Regions from separate parts of the Homo sapiens genome. Here regions 1, 2, 4, 5 and 6 are each linked to region 3. The links are contacts of gene promoters, found by promoter capture Hi-C in blood cells and fetal thymus (Javierre and others, 2016). All regions are on one chromosome and are shown on one strand. Each heading gives the region's core, a stretch centred on a gene start or on the middle of the fragment in contact. The rest is flanking DNA. Distances are from core to core; before and after follow the strand shown. Region 1 has its middle 14 kb from the start of ATOX1-AS1. Region 2 has its middle 30 kb from the start of FAT2. Region 3 holds the start of SLC36A2 (solute carrier family 36 member 2). Region 4 has its middle 33 kb from the start of SPARC. Region 5 holds the start of ATOX1 (antioxidant 1 copper chaperone). Region 6 overlaps LOC105378231 (a long non-coding RNA gene).

Region 1 (4,000 bases), core at 729-3,228, 390 kb after region 3:
GCTCTGTCACACAGGCTGGAGTGCAGTGGTGTGATCATACTTCACTGCAGCCGTGACTTCCTGGGCTCAAGTATTCCTCCTGCCTCAGCCTCCCTAGCAGCTGAGACTATAGGCACCTACCACCATGCCCAGCTAATTTGTCCTGGACAGTTAAGCTATTTGCTCAAGCTCACACATCTGGTAAACAGTCTGTTTATCTGCAGAGCCAGCATTCTTATGCAACATACAGCCTACTTCTAGGCATCCGGGGATTTAGATCCTTGGAGCCCATGATAAACAGACCAATGGGAGGTGACATCCTTATTTTTAGAGGCTTTGATTTTATTGCAAGGCCCTAGTCAGCAGTCATGAGATTTACCTAGGGACATGAAGACTTTCCTTCTCCGAAGAAGCAGATTAGAAAACTTGTCTTCTTAAACTAAGTGGCCACAGCCCTTAAAGACATGGAAATCTAAAAGAAGCTCTGATGGGCACTCCCAAGAAATTACAGACTTGGGTCTTTTAGAGACTGGCACTAATTAAAGGCGAAAGTCATGGAGAGGGCGGTGACCTGAACAACCATTCACCTCCCACATGGCACAATCTTGAGGTTCCATTTTACTTTTCTTAATCTGCCAGGGTTGAAAGAATCTAGATCTGAAATTTTTCAGACTTCAGTTTTCAAACTTCAAGTCGTATAATTGTGACTTTTTGGCCAAACAGAAAGTTTTATTTGTGGAATGTCATTATCAAGAATGAGGCACATGAAGATCTTTAATTCTCACCATGGTCAGAGTACTGTTATGACCTCCATTTTCCAGATAAGGAAACTGAGTTGCACAAAAGAATCAGGAACTTTCCCAAGGTCACACAGTTTTTAAGTGGTGAAGGAATTTAAATCCGGATCTGCTGAAGTCCAGAACGTGGCTTAGTACCACTGGGGCTGTAGGAGGAAGCCCAGTAGATAAAACTGTGAGTTGGGCCAGGCACAGTGGCTCACGTCTGTAATCCCAGCACTTCGGGAGGCCAAGGAGGGATGATCACTTGAACCCAGGAGTTCAAGGCTGCAGTGAGCCGTAATTGCACCACTGCATTCCAGCCTGGGCCAAAGAGCAAGGCCCCATCTCTAAAAAATAAAAACAAATTAAAAGATACAAATAAAATGATGAGTTAAGCTGCCTCGGTTTGGGTTTGGGTGTGTTGGTTTCGAAGAGGCCAGCTCATTGAGACTTCCCCTTGTGCCCTGTAGGGCCCTTGGAAAGCTTGATAGCACCAGAGCAGTTAAAAAAACTGGAAACAAATGTCCTTCAACAGAGGAATGAATCACACCTTCTGGTATATTCATTCAACGGAATACTTACTACTCAGTGATAAAAAGATAACATTTCAAAATAATTATGCTGAATGAAAAAGCTAGACAAAAATGGAGCATACCGTGTGATTGCATCTATATAAAACTCTAGAAAATGCAAACTAATCAATAGTGACAGTAAGCAGATCAGTGCTTACTTGGGGGCAAGGAGAGGGTGGGAGGGATTACCAAGAGGTGCCAGGAAACTTTTTAGGTGATTAATATGGTCACTATCTTGATTGTGGTGATGGTTTCATGAGTGTGTGTGTGTGTGTGTGTGTGTGTTAGATATGTATGTATCTTAATTATACACTTTATTCTTTAGGTAGGAGATAGCAAAAAAAAAGTTTACACTTTAAATATGTGCAGTTTATTGAATGAAATTACACCTCAAAAAAGCAGTTAAAAAAAAACTTCAGCTGGGTGTGGTGGCTCATGCCTGTAATCCCAATACTTTGGGAGGCTGAGGTGGGCAGATCGCTTGATCACATGAGTTTGAGACCAGCCTGGGCAACATGGTGAAACCTCGTCTCTAAATATATATATATATATAAATTAGTTGGGCATGGTGGTGTGTGCCTGTGGTCCCAGCTACTTGGGAGGCTAAGGTGGGAGGATTGCTTGAGCCCGGGAGGCGGAGATTGCAGTGAATGGAGATTGTGCCACTGCATTCCAGCCTGAGTAACAGAGACCCTGTCTCAGAAAAAGAAAAACAACAACAATAACACACACACACACACACACACACACACACACACCCCACTTCAAAATTCAAAAGATTTGCTCAAGCTCACTCAGCACGCTGATGGGGAGCCAGGCCAGGCCAGAGCTCCCCCTGTGGCTCACACCACTGTGAGGAAGGAAGCCTCCCCCACATACAGCCCCCAGGCTTCACCCTGTACTGAGGGCCAGGTGGTTTCTCTCCAGTCATGGTAATGTGGGTACTGGACAAGCCCGGGCTCTGGCCACCAGGCAAATGGGTAGGTCAACAAGGCAAAGTTGGTGGGAGCTTCACCCCATCAAGCCCAGAAACAAGGGCTGGTTACTGGGAACACCCTAGGGTAGGCTGTACTCACAACCAGGAATCTTTGACAAAAATATAAACCTGCTAGAAAGATTAGAAGAGACAATCTCTTCCTTTGTCAAATTATCTGGACCAACACCTACTGAGCATCTACCATGTGTGAGGGTCTGTCCTAGCTCACTATCTTATGCAGTCTAGGTAAGGATGGAATGAGATAAATGCAAGGGCATGACACACTAAATAGGCATCCCCCAAATAGTAGCCATTACTCATCTATCAAATATCCCCTAAGTCCTTGCTCTGTGTGCAGAGGGAACAGATACTTGGGCTGATCCTCGAGGCCAGGAAAGATACGTGGACAGAAAGCTTTGCCACAACACTGAAATTTGTGTGATAAATGCTTTGAGGGCCAAGAGGAGAAATAAATTACTTCCAGCTGTGGAGAGGTTTCATGGAGGCTGTGGTATGCAAGGGAGGGAAAGGAATTTGTATATGGAGACAAGGGAGGCTGGTGGAGGAGATCATTCCGCTTACAGGGGGCAGGCAGCATGAATAAAAGCAAGGCACCTGAGGAGCGGGCTGGCTGGCTGCAGCGAGGAGTGAGAAAGCCTGGAAGGGTGGGCTGGGGCCAAGTGCACAGGGAAGCCTCGGAGAAATACGTGGCCACGTCTGCTCCCCACCCCCACCCCTGCAGAAGCCTGAGCTCCGCTGTGTGATTCATTCATTCCGTGGACAGCCAGCTGGGCTGATGGCAGGCGTGGGAGCTTCCCTAATGCCTCTGTGGCCTTGGAAGAACAGAGCCAAGTGCCTCAGCTAGAAACTTGGATTTCAGCTGGGGGTGGTGGTATAGAGAGAACTCAAAGGAAATGAACCCCTCTGAGAAGCACTCACTCTAAGAGACACCAGTGTCTCAACTCTTGGGCGTTCCCAGTGGGCCAGCCAGACCTCCTAGGGCAACTGAAAATGGAAAAAATCCTCAAGTTTGTTCTCTCAGAGCCCAGAGAAACTTTTTTTTAGAAGAAACTGTCTTAAACGTCTCTGTGGATGGTCAAGTCCAGGAGACACTGCCATCTGGTGGTCAAGAAACACATTTACCTGGTGGGCTGGGAAGGAGTCCCTGCACCCCGGAGGGGCCACGAAGGCAGAAATGGCCCTGAGATTTGTTTAGTACTTTCATAATGGGATAGAAAGGGATGGAAATTATGCTTGCAACCAGTTTAGAGTTGAAATAAAGTGTTATTTCTGGCTACTCAGTTCCCCGAGGTGCAGCAATTATGCATTGGGCAGATGAGGAAACTGTCCATGAGATAGATGAGGTGGCTGCTTCCATGTCTGAGCTGGTCAAATGCAGAGCCAGATCTTATTCCAGTCTCCAGCAGCCCTGGGTCCCCAGTAAGTGCCCAATAAATGGCTAAAGTGGTGATTCTCAACATGTGACCCCCAAGAGCCTTTCAGAAGGCACATGAGGTTCAATTTAAAAGCTTCTGTAAGATGCCTTTTCCTCCTTAACAATTGTACGGTAAAGTTTTCTAGAGTCTAAAGGAATGCAGTGACTTCATCTAGTCCTAATGACTAATGGGATGTGTGCCTGGGTATTTTTGTTTTAAAAATTCCTGTTTTAATTTCTAATGTAGTATAACCCACAT
Region 2 (3,788 bases), core at 68-2,567, 270 kb after region 3:
TCTGGGCCTCAGTTTCCCCACCTGCAAAAGGAGTTAGTTGGGCTCAGTGATACCTAAAGACACTTCTAGCTCCAGCTTGGCCACTGTCTCAGGTTCCAAGATTTCCCCACCCCTTGTGGTAGCTTCAGATTTCTTGCCTGGGGGAAGAGCCAGGGCAAGTTGCTGCAGTTCTGTTCTCTCCACACAGCAGAGTGGCGGCTCCCAGCCCAGAGTGGAGGCTTACCTAACCCCAGCAAGCTGAGCAAATCCCTGAGAACAAAAGGGGGAGAAGACCTGACAAGGGAGGGGAAGGAGTGAGTCTATTCCTTCCTTGCACAGCAACTTTAACCCCTTCCATGCCTCCCCAGCAGCAGGAGGGCAGGCAGGGTTTCCAGACAGGGGGTAATGAATGCATCTCAGGCATGCACGGGCTTCCAGGAACTGCTGTGCCACCAAAGCCAACTTTCCATAGGGGAGCCCTCCCTGGGAGCAGCCACAGCTGGAGATGCCATTTGTCCTTCATAGACCCAGACTCATGGCATCAAAGCCCCCCACCGCTCCACCCCCAACAAAAGCCAGAAGGGAGCTGCATTCCATCCTTCTGCCAGTCAGGAAGCTGAAGCCTAGAAATGGGGAGGAACTTGCCCAAGGTAACATAGCTTTCGACTCACAGGAAGGGGCCTCGACTAGGACAGTGCCAGACACAGAAATGAATAAAGTGTGTTCAATGACCGGAATCAAGGCCTCCCCACCTTGCGCTCCTTCCTCTGTGCATACTATATTGCCTTTTGGGATTCTTAAATCAAAGTTTCCATCCCCAAATTAGAAGCAGATTGTTGAGGCCTGTCCATAAATTCCTCACTTGAACCTGTAGTGACTAATTCTCTCGGGAGTGTGGGATCAAACCCACCATGGCTATTAAGAATTTAATATGAAGCCCCAGTGCCTGGGGCCGTGCTTTCTCATCAGCCCCGAAACAGGGCGAAGCCTGCATGTCAGGCGGGGCCAAGAATGCAAAGTCTGGAGTCCCTTTCCTGAGAAGCTTCCTGGGACAGCAGCCTTCCCTCTGGGGAAATTCTCAGGGGACCTTCTGAACAAGAAGTGTCTTTTTTCCTGCACCAGTCCTAATCATAGACAAAGTGGGAAGCCCCTTGGCAGAGAGAAGTCTGGATAAACACCACCTCCTGGCAATGTACCCTTGCCCCTAACATCTCCCACGTACAACTGACACTCCACCCTTCATGTACAACAGGCTCCCAGTCTCCAAAGGTCTTTGTGAACGCAGCGTGACCCACAGAAAAAGAAGCAGAGGTGGGGGGTGGTGGAGGAGGTTGGGGGAACAGATCCAGTCTATTGGTGAATTTTAAGCAATGAACATATTTTTGACCTGAGAAAGTGGTCAGAGTGCATCAAATTGAGAGCCTGGGCTCCTGCAGCCAGTGAGGGGGCAGAGGCCCAGGAAGAGGGCTCTGGGTGACCCGGGACAGCAGTGGGTGATGGGGCAAAGCTGTCTCACCTACTGGGCTTGGTTACTCATGGGACTGATGGGACTATCAGAGAGCATGTGGCTTGTGAACCCAGGAATGCCTTCTTGAAACAGCCTCCCATCCTTCCTGTGAGATCCCTGAGAGAGATGAAGCTTCAGGGACAATTTAGTGACTGAGTGCCACTCCGCCTGGGATTGTGTTAGGCACTTAATGTGACAAATAAAATACACACGGTTCCTCCCCTCAAGGGCAGTGACAGGTGAGAAATACGGAGGTCATCCTATTATTTCAGATGTGCCTGAATCCCAAAGTTGAGCTCTTTGGCAAACCAGAGCCCCACAGGATCCCCGGGCCGTGTTTGTAATTTACTAGACATGTACCAACTGCATCCCACATATCTGTCCGTCCCTCACAAGTGCATCTCACCCATCAGAGAGTGCTCACAGCTCTACCTCCGAGACACATGCCCTGAATTTCACCACTTCTTTCAGCCCCTCGCCCTACACCCAGTCACCACTTTTTCTTTCCTGGATGACTGTTCTTGTAGTCTCTTCTCCAAGGAGCAGCCAGAGTGATTTGCTCTAAGATAGTAAGTCACTCTCCTGCTAAAACCCTCCATGGACTTCCCATGGCCCTTAGTGGGAAACGCACACTCCCTACCATGGCCCCTGGACAAGACTTTCGCCATCTGTCTCCTGCCCACAGGACGTCCTTCCCCTCCACTTTGCCCCTTATGCACACGCCTTCTTTCCACTACAAGAAGATGACGCACTTGTTTGTTTCCCTGGGTCTCTGAAATTGTTGCTCCTCCTTGGAATGTTTGCTCCCAGCTTCCCATCCTTCAGATTTCAGCTCAAAAGTCACTTCCTCGCAGAGGTCCTCCTTGACAACACTAACCAAACCCCTGCATCACTCATTGCCCATCATATTCCCTTACTTTTATGTGCAGAGCACTTATCAATAACAGAAATCATCTTATTTCTTTGTGTGTATGTTTACTGCCTGTCAGTCTCCTCCCGCCATGCCCCTTGAGGTTCGTGTTTCTCTTTTATTTCCTTACTACTTTCTACTTAGCACCCAGAGCTCAGTGCATAGTAGAGTCTCCAAACATCTTTGTGGCCTCATTCATTGACTAGCACAATGCTCAGACATCAAATATCCATGTGAAAAGAGCATAGAGATTGAATCCATCTACTCACTTGTCAGAGGGGAAAATGGAGATTCCAAGAGGGACTGGGACTTGCCCACAGCCATACAATTCCTTCATTTATTCATATCAGCTGATACATGCAGGATAAGAAGGAGGTATCCGTTTGAAGATATGGGGGGAAGAGCTAGTGCAAAGGGCCTGAGGCACGACCTTTACGGGAAAGCAGGCAGGAGGTGAGTGTAACAGAGCAATCCAAGGAGGAGAGGTGTGAGGGGAGGTGGCCAGGCAGGCAGAAGCCAGGCCATGCATTCGCAACTTGGATTTAGTTCCCTCTAAACCAGGGGTGTGAATTTCTCTGCCCACTTGTGTAAGATGCTCAGACAGCATGGGACCTGGGAGACTAGTTGGGCACCCATAAGAAGCCAAGAGTGAAGATCCTGTGGTTGAGCAAGTCCCATGGGTGTGTTTGCCAGGACATCAAAGGTGCTGCAGGCAGCGGCAGCCGCCTGTCTGAGCTCCATTACCGTGTGGGAACTGCACAGGACCCACCCAGTTAGTATGAGTGCAGTACTCGCTGTGCAATTACGGCTGCTACTGCTGGCTGACCACGTGCCAAATCGCTGCACAGTTAGTTACTCATGCCACAGGCTTTGGACCAATTAAGTGAGCAAAGAGGGTGGTTAACGAGGAGTAAACAATCCAAATGCCCATGATTACACTGAGGCTTTGCTCTAATGCATCCAAGCCAGGAGATGAGGATGGGCAGCAGGGAACATGGGGTCTCCTGTCCTTTGTTTTGTATGGTTGGCCCACTGAAATCTCTTTCACCCAGCCCACCCTGTCCCATACTCTGCTATCACTGTCTGCTGATTATTTTTTTCTTGTCTCCTCCCCTCGCTTTTTTTTTTTTTGGTGGAGGGGCGTGTGTGTGCCAAGTTCTAAGCACTGAGATTACAGCAAAACAAAGCAGCACTTATGGAACTGACATTTTAAAGTCAAACAATCAGGTAAATCAATATGATGCATCAGGTGGTAATACATGCTATGAAGAACACTGATGCTGGGTAAGAGGAATAGAGAGCTCTCAGGGCATGGGTGCTAATTCATATAGTGAGTCTAGAGAAGGCCTTTTTGGGTGAGTGCAGTGGCTCCTGCCTGTAATCCCAGAATTT
Region 3 (3,670 bases), core at 725-3,224:
TCTCCCTGTGGGTGTCCACATCGCTGACCGAGCACTACACCCTACTCGCCAGGCTAGCAATGGGCTTGTTTTGCAACTAGGAAAGGGTCAGCGGGTTACTTTGGAAATTTCTAACTAAAGTACTTAGGAAATCAGAATTTAACTTTGGGCCACTCAACCAACTTGAAAACATAGTGCGGTAAGTCATGCAAAGCACCAAACTGGGAGTTGGGAGACATGGGCTCCAACTCTAACTCCTTTCTTTTTGGTCACCTTGGACTGTCATCTTATTCACAGCAGCCAACACTTACAGACACTGTGTCTGGGGTATTTATGCTCAAATCTCCCAGGAGGAGAGAACTATCATTGACAGAGGAGAAACTGGACACAAAGAAGTTCCAGCATTTGCTCTAGCTGGTAAGCAGCTAAGTGGGAATTCGAGTCTGGGTGAGCCAACCCCATCGTTGCCACGCTTACTCAGCCCGTTATTTGGCTTCTCCCCAAGCCACGTGTCTCCCTTTAGCTCTCACTTGCTTTATTCCTTTGATCCTTAAGTTGCTGAAATTGCCATCAAACCTTGTATCAGTTCAGGACACAAGAGACAGGTGGTTCCCTCAAGGCCTCTGACTGAGAAAATGCCTCTACTTAGCAGTGGCTGGCCCCAACTTACAGACAGCACACTCTCAGGGTCACTAATACTTAGCAACTTCCAGGACTAGCCCTGGGGCGACAGCACAGGCAGCAGGGCCAGTCACTGTGTCCATCCCTAAATTGTCCTGCTGGATGGCTGTGGGGAGGGGCTTTGCCTGCCCCTTACAGTCCCTCCCTGCAGTGCACCCCCGAGAAACACATCCTCCGATTTTGTTTCCATGCACCCTCCTTTAGTTCACACTGCCACCTGTTTTGCATGTCAGAAAACTGGAACTTAGAGAAGGAGCAGAGAAACCACTTGAACTCAGGCCTTCTGATTCTCTGTCCAGTGCTCTTTCTACTATCTAGTGGTGCAAAAACTTTCTTCTTAAAGCAGCAGAACCTCTTCACTACCACACCCCACACCTTTTGTTCCTAAGTAAACTAGCAAGTCTGGTTGGGTGGTGGGGTCAGATGTGGGGAAGGGAGCTGCAGCCCTGTAGCTTGGCTTCCCTCTTTTTTTATGTTTTGGAAGCCTTGTGAATAACCCCCACTCCCCACTCCCTGGAAAGTGGAAAAAACTAGAACTTTCCACAAAGTGTGTTTTTTAGAGTCATCTATGCTTCTCAGTTGAAGTAGAGGCCAGGCTTACTGCAGGAAGGAGGCAGGGAGGAGGAAATACTTAGTGGTCAGTGAGGCCACTGTGGTTTTAAGCTCAGGACTCACCTTCTCCTCCAAGTAGTTAGGGATTCTACCTCTATCCCCAATCTTAACATCGCTGGCCAGGAACAAAAATGTGGCTTTAGGGCCAGCACTGAATTCTAGCCCTTATCCTGCCAATGACTCAGTATGTGGTCCAGGGTAATTGAGCCTCAGTTTCCCCACCTGTGCCTTTTGGGATCTGGATCACTATGTCCCTAAGGGCTTTTCTGACAGCCTTTACTTCTGCCTCAGCTTGACTCAGCCCATGACTGCACCTTTTGCAACCTTGGTTTCTCATCTGCACAGTGGGTTGAGGGTCAGACACACCCACCTCAGGGTTTTTGCCAATGCAAGCTTCAGGCTAGAAAGCAGAAATAGGGATGGCAGAAAACAGCACTCACGTTATGCCCTTGGTCTTCTTCAAGCCTGCTGACTCTGAAGGACTTTCATCCAAGAATGTAGAGTCCTTGTTCTCCAACTTCTTGGCACTTTCAGGAGGCGACATAAGGTCCAATTTGATGGCAACGGCTCCCTGGGGACCCTCAGTACTTTTTGTCACAGACATGACTGCTTAAGAAACAAGGAGCTCGGGGTGACAAAGAGGTCTGCTCTGGAAGGAGGGAAGCAGGAAGGTGTCTAGTGTAGATGTACACCCCAGCACAGTGGTGTGTGCCCGGGCTGGCTCTGGCCAAGCTGGAACGAGGCCCCGCCCACCTCCCTGGAGGGCACCTCTTCCTGCCTGGAGAAGCCAGTGGACGAGGACTCCTGGGAAGAGGAGGAGAGGAAGGAGGGATTTGGAAAAGGCATCACCCATTCGTATTGGTATTACTTAATAATAATCATAATGATAACTATTATACTGATAATTTTAATAACAAATATCTATTAAGCCCTGTACTAAGGGATAAGCAATCCTCTAAGTGTTTTATCTACATTTTCTCATTTAACCCTATCAATTAAGTAAGGAGAAAACTGAGGTTTCTTGAAGTAAAGGAATCTGCCCGAGGTCAGATAGCTAGAAAGTGACAGAGTTGGAACCTAGCCCAATTTGTCAAGGTTTTCAACCAGTAACCTATTTCTGTCTCCAAGAAAATACCTACAAATCCCTCTCCTTTTATTCATCTCAGGGTAGAGGTTTCCATGTCTCACTGGCTCCACAGTCTGCTGTAAGACATCCCTTCTTGCAGCACCCCATTCTTAAATTGGAACAAAAAAGGGACAGTCACTCAGTCATCTCTAATTAATTCTTAGCTTTTGTGAGGCTCCATGGAGTGAGTAAAGAGTGTTCTTCTGGAAACGGGGAAGAGGCTGAGATTGTATGACTCCCAGCCACAGTTTGCTGGGCAAGATACTGGCGCCAGGAGGTGGTGAGATTTGTCTAAGGTCACACATGAAATCCAGGATAGAACTCTGCAGCTAAAGATGGTCTTGGGCGTTTCTCTAGTATCCCACTCTCTGTCATTATCTCTGCTTCAGTGCAGATGAACAGGCCAAAATTTCCTCCTCCCTCAAAATTACAGCTTTTGACTCAAGCCATACCACTCTCTCCTCCATCATCTCATCCCCAAAACTAACATTTCTTAAGGGCTTATTACATGCCACAAGCTTTGCTTAGCTAATGTCACTGCTAACTGGTAGCATCCAAGACAGATTTGTCAGGCCCCTCCCTTACATGGGGCTCTTTCCAAGGTCCTGTATGCAATTTTGAATGGACAATTTTGTATTGCTTTTTTCTTAAAGAGGTCCTCCTTACCACTACTTTCCCCTTCTCCATGGGATAAGCTTCAAGCTCCACAAAGCCTGGCTACTTCTGTGGGTTAGCTTTGTTAGTTTGTTTTTACAGATGTGGAAATTGAGGCTCAGAGAGGAAAAGAATAACTTGCTGGAGGTCACAGCTGGAACTCGGTAAATCCGAACTCCCCGCTAGCCAGGTTTTTTTTGGTTGTTGTTGTTTGTTTTTTGTTTTGTTTGTTTGTTTTTTCTGAAGCCTGCAGCTTTGACCACAGCACTGTCTCCTTTGTTTTAATGCTGGCCCCACCCTGCCAGCTTCTTGTCCTGAATCAACTGAAACACTTGCTGTGATTTGAGAAGTGTTATTCCCTTGTCTGGCACCATTACATGGCAGTATTACTGGTCTGTGAAGTAGCAGGCTGCATCCTGTGACCTGCTCGTTTACAGCCTGAGATTCCACAATTTAAATTTGTAATCTCAGATTTGATGTCGCAGGTGGAGCTCTGTGTTCCTGCTCGAGCAAGGTCAGTAATAAGATTGTTGAGGAGCTTGCTATGTTTAGATATGAGCTAGTTCTTGCCTTCCTCTCCAGGTTTTGAGAAGAACTCTGAATTATCTTCAGGCCTTT
Region 4 (3,709 bases), core at 62-2,561, 370 kb after region 3:
ATGCATGTGAGATCCCAAGTAGCAGGAGCCTCCCTGAGACCACAGGGGAAGGCTGCATGAACATGAAGCCAACAGGAAAGAGAATAGAGTGGAGAGACAGACAGACAGACAGAGAGAAACAGAGACAGCAGAGAAACAGAAAGAGAGAAAGAGAAAGAGACAGAGAAACAGAGAGAAACAGAGCCAGACAGAAAAGGGCAGACAGACAAAGAGAGACAGAGAAAGAGAGACTAAGAGAGAGAGAGAGAGAGAGAGAAAGACAAAGATAGAGACAGAGACACAGAAAGATACTCATGGGACACTGGTCCAAGCCCCTAAGCTAGCCTGGGGCAGACACTGTTATTTGTCTGCTCAACATCCATTCTCCTCTTCTGCCTAATCAACAGACCCTCAATTCTGCTTAGGGAGCTCTGTGTCCATCTCAAAATACTAATCTTTCTAGACTCCTTTGCAGTGCAGAGAGGCCATGGGACATGCTTCTCACCAATGAACTTGTAAGCAGAAATCAGTGCATGGAGCTTCTGGGGAAGCTTGTGAAAGAGGGAGACTTTGCTTTTTGTCCCTCTTCTTCCTTCTTGGATGGCATATGTAAGACAAAGTGGAGCCACAGGAGAATGGAATCCACAAGGAAAGGCTGACAGAAGGAACTGCAGCCTGATGATGGCATGGACCCAGCGTCATCCTCAGATGGCCAGATTGCTTGCAAAGTGGTATAAAAGCTGCTGGAATCAGGTTTCTGTGACACACAGCAGAGTGCAATCCTATGTAATATACAGCCCTGCTCCTGGACTTTTTCTTTCCATAAGCCTTTTTGCTTATACTGGTTTGGGTTGGGTTTTCTATCCCTTTCAACAGAAGAAATCCATTTCTGACTCGGAGGAGACATCCTGTTTACTCAACAGGTAAATGTCTCACATCTATGAGACAAGGTGAACGATAATTGTCCCTTTAAGAGAAAGAAGATGATATTCCTTACGTGTGGCTGCAGGGGAACATTAAAGCAGGAGGTGGAGAGAGAAAAGGAATGTAATGGGGTGAAGAGGAGCCTTACGGAGAGCAGAAAGTTTCTTCTGGCTTCAGAACCGAGCTGATGCAGTGTCTGGGGCTGCTGTCTGGGTCACAAAAATAATTTGGATGACTCTGTGGCCAAACTATGTAGGGGAAGCTCCTCCAACTTTTAGCAAACTGTAGTTGGCCCTTACTCTTTTGAGGCATGTGAAGAACTACATTCTTCAAGGGGCTGGGCCTCTTCAAGACTTTTTCTCTTTCCTGGAGAGGGCCAGGGAGGTGAGTGGGGGAAAGACTAAGCATCAATGTGAGCATGAGAAAATTCTGGAATCAGTAAGATCTCAGTTTTTTTGTTTTTTTGAGACAGAGTCTTGCTCTATCACCCAGGCTGGAATGCAGTGGCACAACCATAGCTCACTATAACTTTGAACTCCTGGGCTTAAGTGATCGTCCCGCCTCAGCCTCCCAAGTAGGTGGGCCTACAGGCACATGTCACCACGCTCAGCTAGTTTTTAAATTTTTTGTAGAGACAGGGTCTCACTATCTTGCCAGGGCTGGTTTTGAACTCCTGGTCACAAGCCATCCTCCTGTCTTGGCCTCCCAAAGTGCTGAGATTACGGGCATGAACCAGTGTCTGGTCAAAATGGAGTTTTTTGTTTTGTTTTTGAGACAGGGGTCTCGTTCTGTTGCCCAGGCTGAAGTGCAGTGGCACGAACATGGCTCACTGCAGCCTCAACCTCCCAGGGTCAAGTGATTCTTCTACCTCAGCACCCCCTAGTGGCTGGGACTATAGGTGTGCACCACCATGCCAGTTAATTTTTAAATTTTTTTAATAGAGCCTGTTGCCCAGGCTGGTCTCTAACTCCTGGGCTCAAGCAATCCTCCTGCCTTGGCCTCCCAAAGTGCTGGGATTATAGGCGTGAACCACTACACCCAGCCTGAAATGGAGTTTTCTATGAATTATTAATTAGATCCCTTTTAATACTCTTAGAGATATAAAAATGAAGATTGTAGCACTTTTAAATGATTTGTAACTGTAACACTTTGTTTTCTTCAATGTGGCTCTTCACAGACTGGGCCATGTGAAGCTTTGGGATTTCCCAGGGTCATGTTCTTTACAGAGGCAGGAGGTCAGCTCTACTGGTTCCCTCACACTGTTTCAACTTCCCTGCCCTCTAAACAGGCTGCACAGCATCCTCCAGCCCCAACTATCCTCTCAGAAGAGTTGTCGGAATAAGGACAAAAACAACACCCTCTGTCTCTAGGTCCTTCTGGAATGTCTTCTAAGATACAAAGTCTCCTCTCAGGCCCGTTAGCTCATCCCACCCTCCCTCCACCTCTGTCTGGATTAAAAGCCTTCTGTGCTGGAGGACAAGGAGAATCCTGAAGAGCCAACTAGCTGAACTGCTAGAGTTGCTCCAGTGATTCTCCAAAGTGCCTCTTATCCTGAGACTTTCCTGTTGTCCAGGAGACCCAATGGATGTTTCCCCCAGCCCCTTTGCCTAGGGAAAAGTAAGTGATAGCAGGCAGGAAGGCCTTGCTGCTGTAGTGCCACTGTGCACAACCTAGAAAGCTGCAGCAAAGAGAGACTTGAAGGTTGCTTGGGCAGCTCCCAGAGATGGCACTGCTTTTCAGGGAAGTTGTGTCTCAGGTAGTGACTATTTGGGCCAGTGCTACGCAGGTGGTAGAAAGAATTTACCAAGACAGTTGTAGGTCAGCAAAGCAGATTTGTTAGAGGAAGTATGAAAGTATGTTGCAAGGGTGCAATGGGTAAGTCAGCAAGAGAGTAGCTGACTGCAAGGAGTCAAAGGCTTGCTGGGGATTTTTTAGGATGGTGCTTGTGCTGTGTGCTGAAGAGGGCTTTGTACAGTACAGATAATGCCAAGGTTGCAGTGAGCTAATGTACATTATTCTATCAGCCGAGGTGTCTGGTGATAGTTGGGCACAGGAAGATTGTGAGTTATTTGCACAGGAGGGCTATGTGTCCTGGACCATGAAGAAAGGCAGATGTATAGCTTATCTACTTTTTCTTTTTTCTTTCCCCTGCTCCCACCAGCCTGACTCCTTTTCCCTAATTAGGACTCCACAGGTTGTGGTCCCCACTACCTAGGGTCATAACCTTTGCAGGTTTTGAAGCTCCGTCTGATCAGTTTGCAGTGTTGGGGGATTGCTGCACAGAGAAAGACAGATGCTCCTGGAAAATACCAACATGTCCCATCCCCCTCATCTGGAGGATGAGCTTTTGCACTAGCAGAAAGTTTGTTTCTACACCTAAAGCCATATTATTCCCTATGCCAAGGTGTTGAATTAGACATCAAGAGGTTGATGAAGGAGTACAGAATTGGAGCAAAGGGTGATCTGAAGGGATGTGACATCTAAGTGGTGTGATGAAGTGTTCCTGCTCCCATAGTAAAGTCTGTCCTCACACAGTGGGAGGCAGTAGTTCTTAGCATAGAGGCTAAAGTGTAGTCTCTGCCGTGCATTGTATGCATTCAAATTCTGATCTATTCTGAGTAACAATGTGGCTCTGGGCAAGCTACCTTTCTAGGTTGCAGTTTCATCTGTAAAATGACAAAAAAGAAAGTATCAGAACAAGTTGGTACTAGGCCCAGTCCTGCTATAAGTTGCTGGTCACGTCAAGTAAATCTCTCAGCCTCTCTGGATCCATGCTTCCTCCTCTGAAAAATGAAAAGGGTTGAAT
Region 5 (3,425 bases), core at 123-2,622, 410 kb after region 3:
CTTCTGGGTATAAACATTACAGTTCAGTGCTCTCCTCCTCCACCTCTGAGGGGCAAAAATAAATTTGAGGGTGATGGAAAATCTATTTCATGGACAGAGTAATCACTTCTTTATAGGAGAATCTCAAGATTGGCTCTACCACCAGATGCATAACTGGGTAGTTCTGGTTCCTCATGGCCTCTGGGGTCTTTTATAAAGACTTATAAAATGGGTAGATTTTAAAAGCCAGTAGGTTTAAAGTAGGTTTTTAAAGTCAGTAAGTGGGATGATTCTTTTTTTTTTTTTTTTTTTTTGAGACTGAGTCTCACAGTGTCACCCAGGCTGCAGTGCAGTGGCACGATCTCAGCTCACTGCAACCTCCGCCTCCTGGGTTCAAGCGATTCTCCTGCCTCAGACTCCCGAGTAGCTGGGACTACAGGCGTCCGCCACCATGCCCGGCTAATTTTTTTGTATATTTAGTAGAGACGGGGTTTCACCATGTTGGCCAGGCTGGTCTCAAAGTCCTGACTTTGTGATCTGCCTGCCTTAGCCTCCCAAAGTGCTGGGATTACAGGCATTACCCGCCGCACCTGGCCTATTATTATCCCTTCTTGACAGATGAGGAAACTGAGATTTAGGGGTTAGTTCACACACTCACGGTGATTCGGCTGAGTAGGGCCTGAATTGAACATAGTCAGCCTCTAAAACCTCAATGCTTAACCACTGAGATCTTGTTAAAATGGGATTGAAAGCTGCCTGCCTATAGTTTTCTCTTCTCTTCTCTTCTTTCTTTCTTTCTTTTCTTTCTCTCTCCTTCCTTCCTTTTTTTTTTTTCTTTTGAGACAGGGTTTCACTTTCACTCTGTCACCCAAGCTGGAATGCAGTGGCACGATCACGGCTCACTGCAGCCTCAACCTCCCAGGCTCCAGCAATCCTCCCACTTCAGCCTCCCAAGTAGCTGGGACTATAGGCACGGGCCACCACGTCTGGCTAATTTTTTGTATTTTTTGTAGAGCCAGGGTTTCATCATGTTGCCAAAGTTGGTCTCAAGCTCCTGCATTAAAGTGATCTGCCCGCCTGGGCCTCCCAAAGTGCTGGGATTACAGGCGTGAGCCACCATGCCCGGCCTCACCTGCCTATAGCTCTAGCCCACCTGTCCTACGTCTACACAGGAGCTACCATTTCTTGGGGACTAGATATATCAGTGGCTGTGTGACATATTTTACTGGCATTTTTCCAGTTAATACTAACAACAGTCCTGTGAGGTCAAAGTTTTTGTCCCTATCTTACAGATGAGGAAATCAAGGCAGTGAGATAAAGCAACTTGCCTGAGGTCACCCAGTTGGCAAGCTGGGGCACAGATTTTCAGAGGTTTCTGGGATTCCAAACCCTGTGCTCTCGGGCATTTGTCTGAGAAAACTCTCAGGTAACACACTCTTCCCCTTCCAGTATGTGTATATAGATATATTTTTTTCTTCCCTTTCCAGTTTTGAGGAAATCCCTTGACTAACACCCTCTTTCCTTCAGCTGTTATCTTGTGGTACATGGTGCCAAGTGCCCTCCTCATTCCCATCATCTGCTCCAGAGGGTTTTTTGTCAAAATCCCCAGAAGATACAGAATACAGTGATGATCAAGCTAGCCTTTTCCTCATTGCCACCCCCCACAAAAAATCCTGGTGGCCTTCACTCCCCAAGCCCCAGGGCAATTAATACTGTCTTCTACCATTGCCACAGGCTGACTTGCCCAACTGGTAGGGCTGATTCTATCAGATTCCTTATCCATACTTTGTTGTTGGAGGATTTGTCTCAAGGCACCTGGCAAGACCCACAGGAAATGACACCTGAGATGTCAGTGGCTCTGCCCAGGAGGCCTCAGGCTCACCTGCCAGCTCCCTAAAGACAGGATGCAAAGACACATGGCAACTGTGGGATACCTCTGGGTATCCACCTGGCCCAGAGCCATGAATTAGGCACCCTGAAGAAAATGCTAAACACCACATGACCCTAACCAAGATGCAACTGAGATCAGAGCATCTTCCCAAGCCGGTGTGACTGCTTTTGCCTGGCACCTCCCATGTGGTCAGGCCTGGAGAGATGGGGAGCCTAAGGATAAGGAGCTGAATCCTGGCTCTGCCAACTTCAACACGACCTGGAATAAGTTACTGGGCTTTTTATATTTTTATCTGCCAAAGGCCTCAATTCTTTATATAAAAAACGAGGCCACGAGCAACAATATATGTGATAAGACTGAGTGATCTGCAAAGGCAGGCTAAGACTGACTTCCCAGACACAGCCACTGAGCAACTGGTGACTGTGCGGGGGGGTTCCTGAACCTCTCTGGGGCTCATGGGTTCAGGCTGAGAAAGTGTCTCCATTCAGTGTCGCCCAGAGTTGATCTGAAAAGTAGGCCAGAGTGGGCAGGGAAATTAAGAAAAGCATGAACCTCTGAAAACCTGCCCGGTCCGTGAGGAAATAACCGGGTCCACTCCCTTGTCCAGAGCCTCCCCACCGCCCTCCTTCAGGCCAGCTCCGCGGGCAGGGCAGCCAGGAGGAAGGCTCAGGGACTAGGCGTCTCAGTTCCCGCTGGCCACCAACTCCCCCATCCCCTGCCCCCTCTCTGGTTCTGTTTCTCTGTGTACGCAGGGAAGGTGTGGGCTTGTCGCCCCTGGAGGCCTTCCAGCTCCGACGTTTTGAAGCCTGGCTCCCAGATTAAACTCCCTTCGGATCCCATTTTCTGAAGGGTCGCAAAAGCTGGGGGCTGGGTGGGGTAAGCTAGGGGACAACAGCGGCTCCGGCCGCCGCCTGAGCCCTTCAAGATCAGCATCCGGTCAAGCGGCTGTGCAGCCGAGAAGCAACCCGGGACTGCAAGTCTGCGTGGCGGGGACGGCGCAACCACTCACCGGCATGACTGAGGCAGCGGCGGTGTGGCGGCGGTGTGGCGGCGGTGTCAGCAGCGCCTCTCTGGATTCGGAGGGCGGGTTCGGCTGCGCTTCCGAGAGTGCGCACTAGAGGCCTGGTCCCGGAGGCCCCTCCCACTCCGGGCCCGGCCGCGAGGGAGGCTCCGCCCCCTCCAGTCCTGATCCCTGCCGGCCGCGCCGCCTCCTTTCTGCGGGCCGGGCCCGTGGTCACCCGGCCTGGACGGAGAGAGGAGGTGAGAGGGGCGCTGCGTTGGCCTCCATCGACTGTCGGCCTTTTTCAGAACGCCTACTTCGGGTCAAGCTTGTGTTAGGGAATGCCAGAGAAGGGCACCGCCTTGAACAGGACATCATCCATCCATCCCTAAAAGGACAGTTTCACTCATTTATTCACCGAGTCAATTTTTATTAAGCGCCAGCCAACGAGGACGCAGCGGTGGAAGAGCAGCAGCAGGAGGCTGCGAAGGACGCAGGCAGTGATAGTGCAGGGTTAGCAGAGCTGTTGTGACAGAGGAGGAAGGGCCCTGACTG
Region 6 (3,901 bases), core at 239-2,738, 300 kb after region 3:
TGATGCCAAGTATTCCTGTGGCTAACAAGCCCTGGTTGCAGGGGTGGTGGGCAGGGTGGCACAGGGAGGTAGGGGGTAGCCCTCTCTCTCCTCCTCAGCTTCCTAAAAGCCATCTGTTCCAGAACCCAAGCATTGCTTCCCGCTACACCCAAACCACCGCTACACCCAAACCCGTGGGACTGGTTATCCCCAGCACACACAGCTCTCTGTTGCTGCTTGTGTTTGTTAGTTGGCATTTGAACAGTTCTCTGTGGTTCAAGTGTGAGGGTGGCCTGGGGCAAAATGAGATTGGCAGAGGTTGGCATGGATACCACACCTCCTTCCCACTCTCTTACCCACGAGCCCAGACCCCTAAACTTCCCCCTATATAACAAACACCACCATCGCCTGGAACTCCCTTCCCCTTCAGGACCCCATTCTTTACTTTTTCAGATGGCTTATTGGAGAAACAACCTCTTCTAAGGCATGAGATGTTGCTAAAGTTCTTTTTCATAGGGGTCCTCTGTGGACAGCACACCCAGGACTCATGAGAGGATAATGGCTGGAAATTACAGGCATGTGGCAGCTTCTGAGGGACAGATGGAAGTAGGTTATCTCCTCTGCTCTTACAGTAAATCTTAAGTTTTTCTATACATTGTCACCTAAGGTATGTAAGATTTTCTTTTCTTTTTCTTTCTTTCTTTCTTTTTTTTCTTCCTTCTTTTTTTTGAGTCAGGATTTCCCTCTGTCGCTTAGGCTGGAGTGCAGTGGTACCATCACAGCTCACTGCAACCTCTGTCTCCCTGGCTCAAGCAATCCTCCCACCTCTGCCTCCAGAGTAGCTGGGACAATAGGAGTGTGCCACCAAGCTTGGCTATATTTTTTTTTAAGAGATGGGCTCTCACTAGGTTGCCCAGGCTGGTCTCAAACTCCTAGGCTCAAGCAATCTGCCCGCCCTGGACTCCTAAAGTGCTGGGATTATAGGCGTTTAGTGCCTGGCCCTCTATTCATTTTCTATTCAGCAGACACTGGGGTGCACTGGCCTAGCAGGGGTGAGAACTGACTTCTTAATCAACTCAATGACTCATGTGCCATGTCATCTTCCCTTTTGGGAGAACCTCAGTTTTGTTGTGTGATGGGGTTTCATTGAGTTATTGCCACCGGGCTCACAATTTATGAGGCAGTTCTCTATTTTTTAAGAACTACCCATGAAGCTAGGAGACATGAGGTTCCTCCTGACTCACTCTGTTTCTCTGCTATTTGTGGTGGCTATCATGGAGGTAGGGCACTTCACAGTTTGCAGGGTGTCCAGACTGCCCTGACTTGATTCAGTGTTCAACAAATATTTTTGAGTATCTCTGAAGTGCTCGGCATGGTGCAGGTTCTGTGGATACAAGCATGAGTGAAGTAAGTGGTTTGGAAATAATGTGCTACGGAAACGAACAATGTATTCAAAAGGTGCACAATGGCCTGGAGCAGTGACTCAGGCCTGTAATCCCAGCACTTTGGGAGGCCAAGGTGGGCGGATCACCTGAGGTCAGGAGTTTGAGATCAGCTTGGCCAACATGTTGAAATCCCATCTCTACTAAAAATGCAAAAATTAGCTGGGGGTGGTCGGGGGGCGCCTGTAATCCCAGCTACTCGAAAAGCTGAGGTAGGAGAATGACTTAAACCTGGGAGGCAGTGGTTGCAGTGAGCCGAGATGGTGCCACTGCACTCCAGCCTGGACCACAACATGAATGAAACTCCGTCTCAAAAAAAAAAAAAAAAAAGAGAAAAGGGGGGTGCACAAGTTCCTTGCAGATGGAACTTAAGCTATAAGGTGGGAATGAATACAAAGAGCCCAGGGAGGAAGGTAAGATGAGGATTACCACTCCCATTTTACAGAGCAACCTTGGAGACACCGACTGACCATTCTAGACTGACTGGTTAGAGGCTCCCTCCCTGAGAAAGTGGTGTTTTAGGAGAACACTTCCTAACAAGAAGAAGCCAGCTTTGGGAAGAGCTAAAGGCAGCTTGCGCAAAGGCCCTGAGGCAGGAACCAGCTAGGCCACTGGGTACATTTGAAGACCAGAAATAAGGTCAATGTGTCTGGAACTTAGCTACTGCAGGATATGAGATTCAAGAGAAAAATAGGGTTGAATCATGAAAAGCTTTAGGGATTTTGTTTTGAGTGTAACAAAAAGTCATTGGTGGTTTTTGTTTTGTTTTTGTTAATTGTACCTTTTTAAATGATCATGCTAGCTGCTGTAATATTGTCACCAGCACCACTTTGTACCTCTTTTTTTTTTTTTGAGATGGAGTTTTTCTCTTTCACCCAGGCTGGTGGGAAGTGGTGAGATCTCAGCTCACTGCAACCTCCGCCCCCCAGGTTCAAGCAATTCTCCTCCCTCAGGCTCCCGAGTAGCTGGGATTACAAGTGTGTGCCACCACACCCAGCTAATTTTTGTATTTTTAGTAGAGACAGGGTTTCCCCATGTTGGCTGGTCTCAAACTCCTGACGTCAGGTGATCCGCCCACCTCAGCCTCCCAAAGTGCGAGATTACAGGCGTGAGCCCCTGGACCTGGCCCACTTTGTGCCTCTTTGGCACACCATTCACTTTGTAATCAATGTAAATGAAGACCTCCAGAGCTGTGCAAGGTGGAGCAGTCCCTATAGTTCTTCCCAAGCCCTATGTGCTTTCAGGATCTGAGAATCTAGTGTTAAGAGACTTTGGGTTGGGAAGAGTCTTCCCTAGGGGCTTTAATGATGTCAATCCTAAATCTTCTTGGAGAAGCCCAATGGGAGTGCTGGCCCCTCCAGGGTGTCTTTATTGATCTCTGTAAACACTCCCTTCTCCCAAGCTCTTTCATCCGAGAGGCCAAGCCAAGTGGAGGCAGACGCTCACTCACTCTCTCCTCCCTTCAAGCTGACACTCTGTAAGCCTTTAAGCAGCTTGTAACTCCATCATCTCAGCGCCCCTTGGAAGCGAGCAGCGTCAGATTAAGCGAATCTGGGATCCGGGTGCTGAGGAATTTGGGGCCTCTCAGGTCTCTTGGCAGGAGTAACAAGTACCTGCAGAGACTCTTCTTCAGAACAAGTGAAACTAATTCCTTCCAGGGGCAGAAAAAGGCATGTTTTTGGCAAAAGACTTCATAAGATGTTATCTCAACATCTTATGAAGTTGGAGCCCTAGGAGGGAAGGCAGTTGCTAAACCAGGTGGGAAAACAGATAGGGTGGGAGGGAAGGACTTAGGTAGGTTCCCACACTGGTTTGGATCCAGGGCCGCCTCTGGAACTAGGTTTCCTGGCCTGAGGAGGGTGGCCTCATGCCTTTTCCACTCTCCTAGGACTAGACAGGGAGAAAGAAGAACGTGGAAGGGAAGGAAGGGGAGAAGAGAAGAAATGAACTGCTTAAGTTCATGGCCCCATTCTACTCCTCAAGCTGGACAACTTAGTGGAAAGAGTTGCAGATGTAAAGTTACAGATGCAAGGAAGCTTCAGCATCATCCAATCTAACCCTCTTATTTCTTTTTATTTATTTATTTATTTATTTGAGACAGGGCCTCCCTCTGTTGCCCAAGCTGGACTGCAGTGGCACAATCTTGGCTCACTGCAGCCTCCTCCTGTGAGGTGCAAGCAATCCTCCCAGCTCAGCCTCCCACGTAGCTGGGACTTCAGGTGCATGCCACCATGCTCAGTTAATTTTTTTTAAATTTTTTGTACAGACAGTATCTCAGTATATTGCCCAGGTTGGTCTCAAACTCCTGGGCTCAAGCAATCCTCCCACCTCGGCCTCCCAAAGTTCTGGAATAACAGACATGAGCCACTGTGCCCAGCGAAGCCTCTTATTTCATGGATGAAAAGACCAAGGCCCCCAAGATGAGTACTTCCCAATGCTGACCAGAAGATGAGATGGCCTTCTCCTGTGCCAGAGGAAGT

What was found. Contacts are between HindIII fragments. The CHiCAGO score rates a contact against its expected background, and 5 or more counts as called.
Region 1: a contact is called between a fragment that was not itself captured here and the fragment with the promoter of SLC36A2 in region 3, in 1 of 17 cell types (M2 macrophages). The highest score is 8.2, in M2 macrophages.
Region 2: a fragment that was not itself captured here is called in contact with the fragment with the promoter of SLC36A2 in region 3 in 3 of 17 cell types (M1 macrophages, M0 macrophages and M2 macrophages); the score reaches 8.3 in M1 macrophages.
Region 4: a contact is called between a fragment that was not itself captured here and the fragment with the promoter of SLC36A2 in region 3, in 1 of 17 cell types (M2 macrophages). The highest score is 5.1, in M2 macrophages.
Region 5: a fragment that was not itself captured here is called in contact with the fragment with the promoter of SLC36A2 in region 3 in 1 of 17 cell types (M2 macrophages); the score reaches 5.3 in M2 macrophages.
Region 6: a contact is called between a fragment that was not itself captured here and the fragment with the promoter of SLC36A2 in region 3, in 3 of 17 cell types (M1 macrophages, M0 macrophages and M2 macrophages). The highest score is 8.2, in M1 macrophages.

What each region holds. Positions count from the first base shown.
Region 1 is chr5:151,737,399-151,741,398 of GRCh38, forward strand. No RefSeq gene overlaps it. Among named protein-coding and RNA genes, the nearest start is that of ATOX1-AS1, 14 kb to the right of the region's middle. RefSeq lists silencers at 2,750-3,044, 3,210-3,504, 3,270-3,564 and enhancers at 3,303-3,846, 3,304-3,353. The HindIII fragment of the contact is 1,479 bases long and covers 1,240-2,718 here.
Region 2 is chr5:151,619,730-151,623,517 of GRCh38, forward strand. No RefSeq gene overlaps it. Among named protein-coding and RNA genes, the nearest start is that of FAT2, 30 kb to the left of the region's middle. RefSeq lists enhancers at 1-358, 359-1,035. The HindIII fragment of the contact is 597 bases long and covers 1,020-1,616 here.
Region 3 is chr5:151,345,585-151,349,254 of GRCh38, forward strand. SLC36A2 (solute carrier family 36 member 2) reads right to left here and starts at 1,975. Exons shown (of 10, transcript NM_181776.3): 1 at 1,713-1,975. The coding sequence starts at 1,876. It also overlaps a transcript of SLC36A1 not described here. RefSeq lists an enhancer at 1,488-2,401. The HindIII fragment of the contact is 1,251 bases long and covers 1,664-2,914 here.
Region 4 is chr5:151,717,672-151,721,380 of GRCh38, forward strand. No RefSeq gene overlaps it. Among named protein-coding and RNA genes, the nearest start is that of SPARC, 33 kb to the left of the region's middle. RefSeq lists silencers at 403-603, 1,597-1,891, 2,823-2,932 and enhancers at 3,175-3,354, 3,425-3,684. The HindIII fragment of the contact is 1,566 bases long and covers 529-2,094 here.
Region 5 is chr5:151,755,667-151,759,091 of GRCh38, forward strand. ATOX1 (antioxidant 1 copper chaperone) reads right to left here and starts at 2,965. Exons shown (of 4, transcript NM_004045.4): 1 at 2,880-2,965. The coding sequence starts at 2,885. ATOX1-AS1 (ATOX1 antisense RNA 1) reads left to right here. Exons shown (of 4, transcript XR_007059008.1): 3 at 1,272-1,405; 4 at 2,623-2,694. RefSeq lists an enhancer at 2,004-2,133 and a silencer at 2,904-3,153. The HindIII fragment of the contact is 3,647 bases long and covers 1-3,196 here.
Region 6 is chr5:151,646,344-151,650,244 of GRCh38, forward strand. All of the region lies in intron 1 of LOC105378231 (a long non-coding RNA gene), which reads left to right. Among named protein-coding and RNA genes, the nearest start is that of CLMAT3, 29 kb to the right of the region's middle. The HindIII fragment of the contact is 1,284 bases long and covers 847-2,130 here.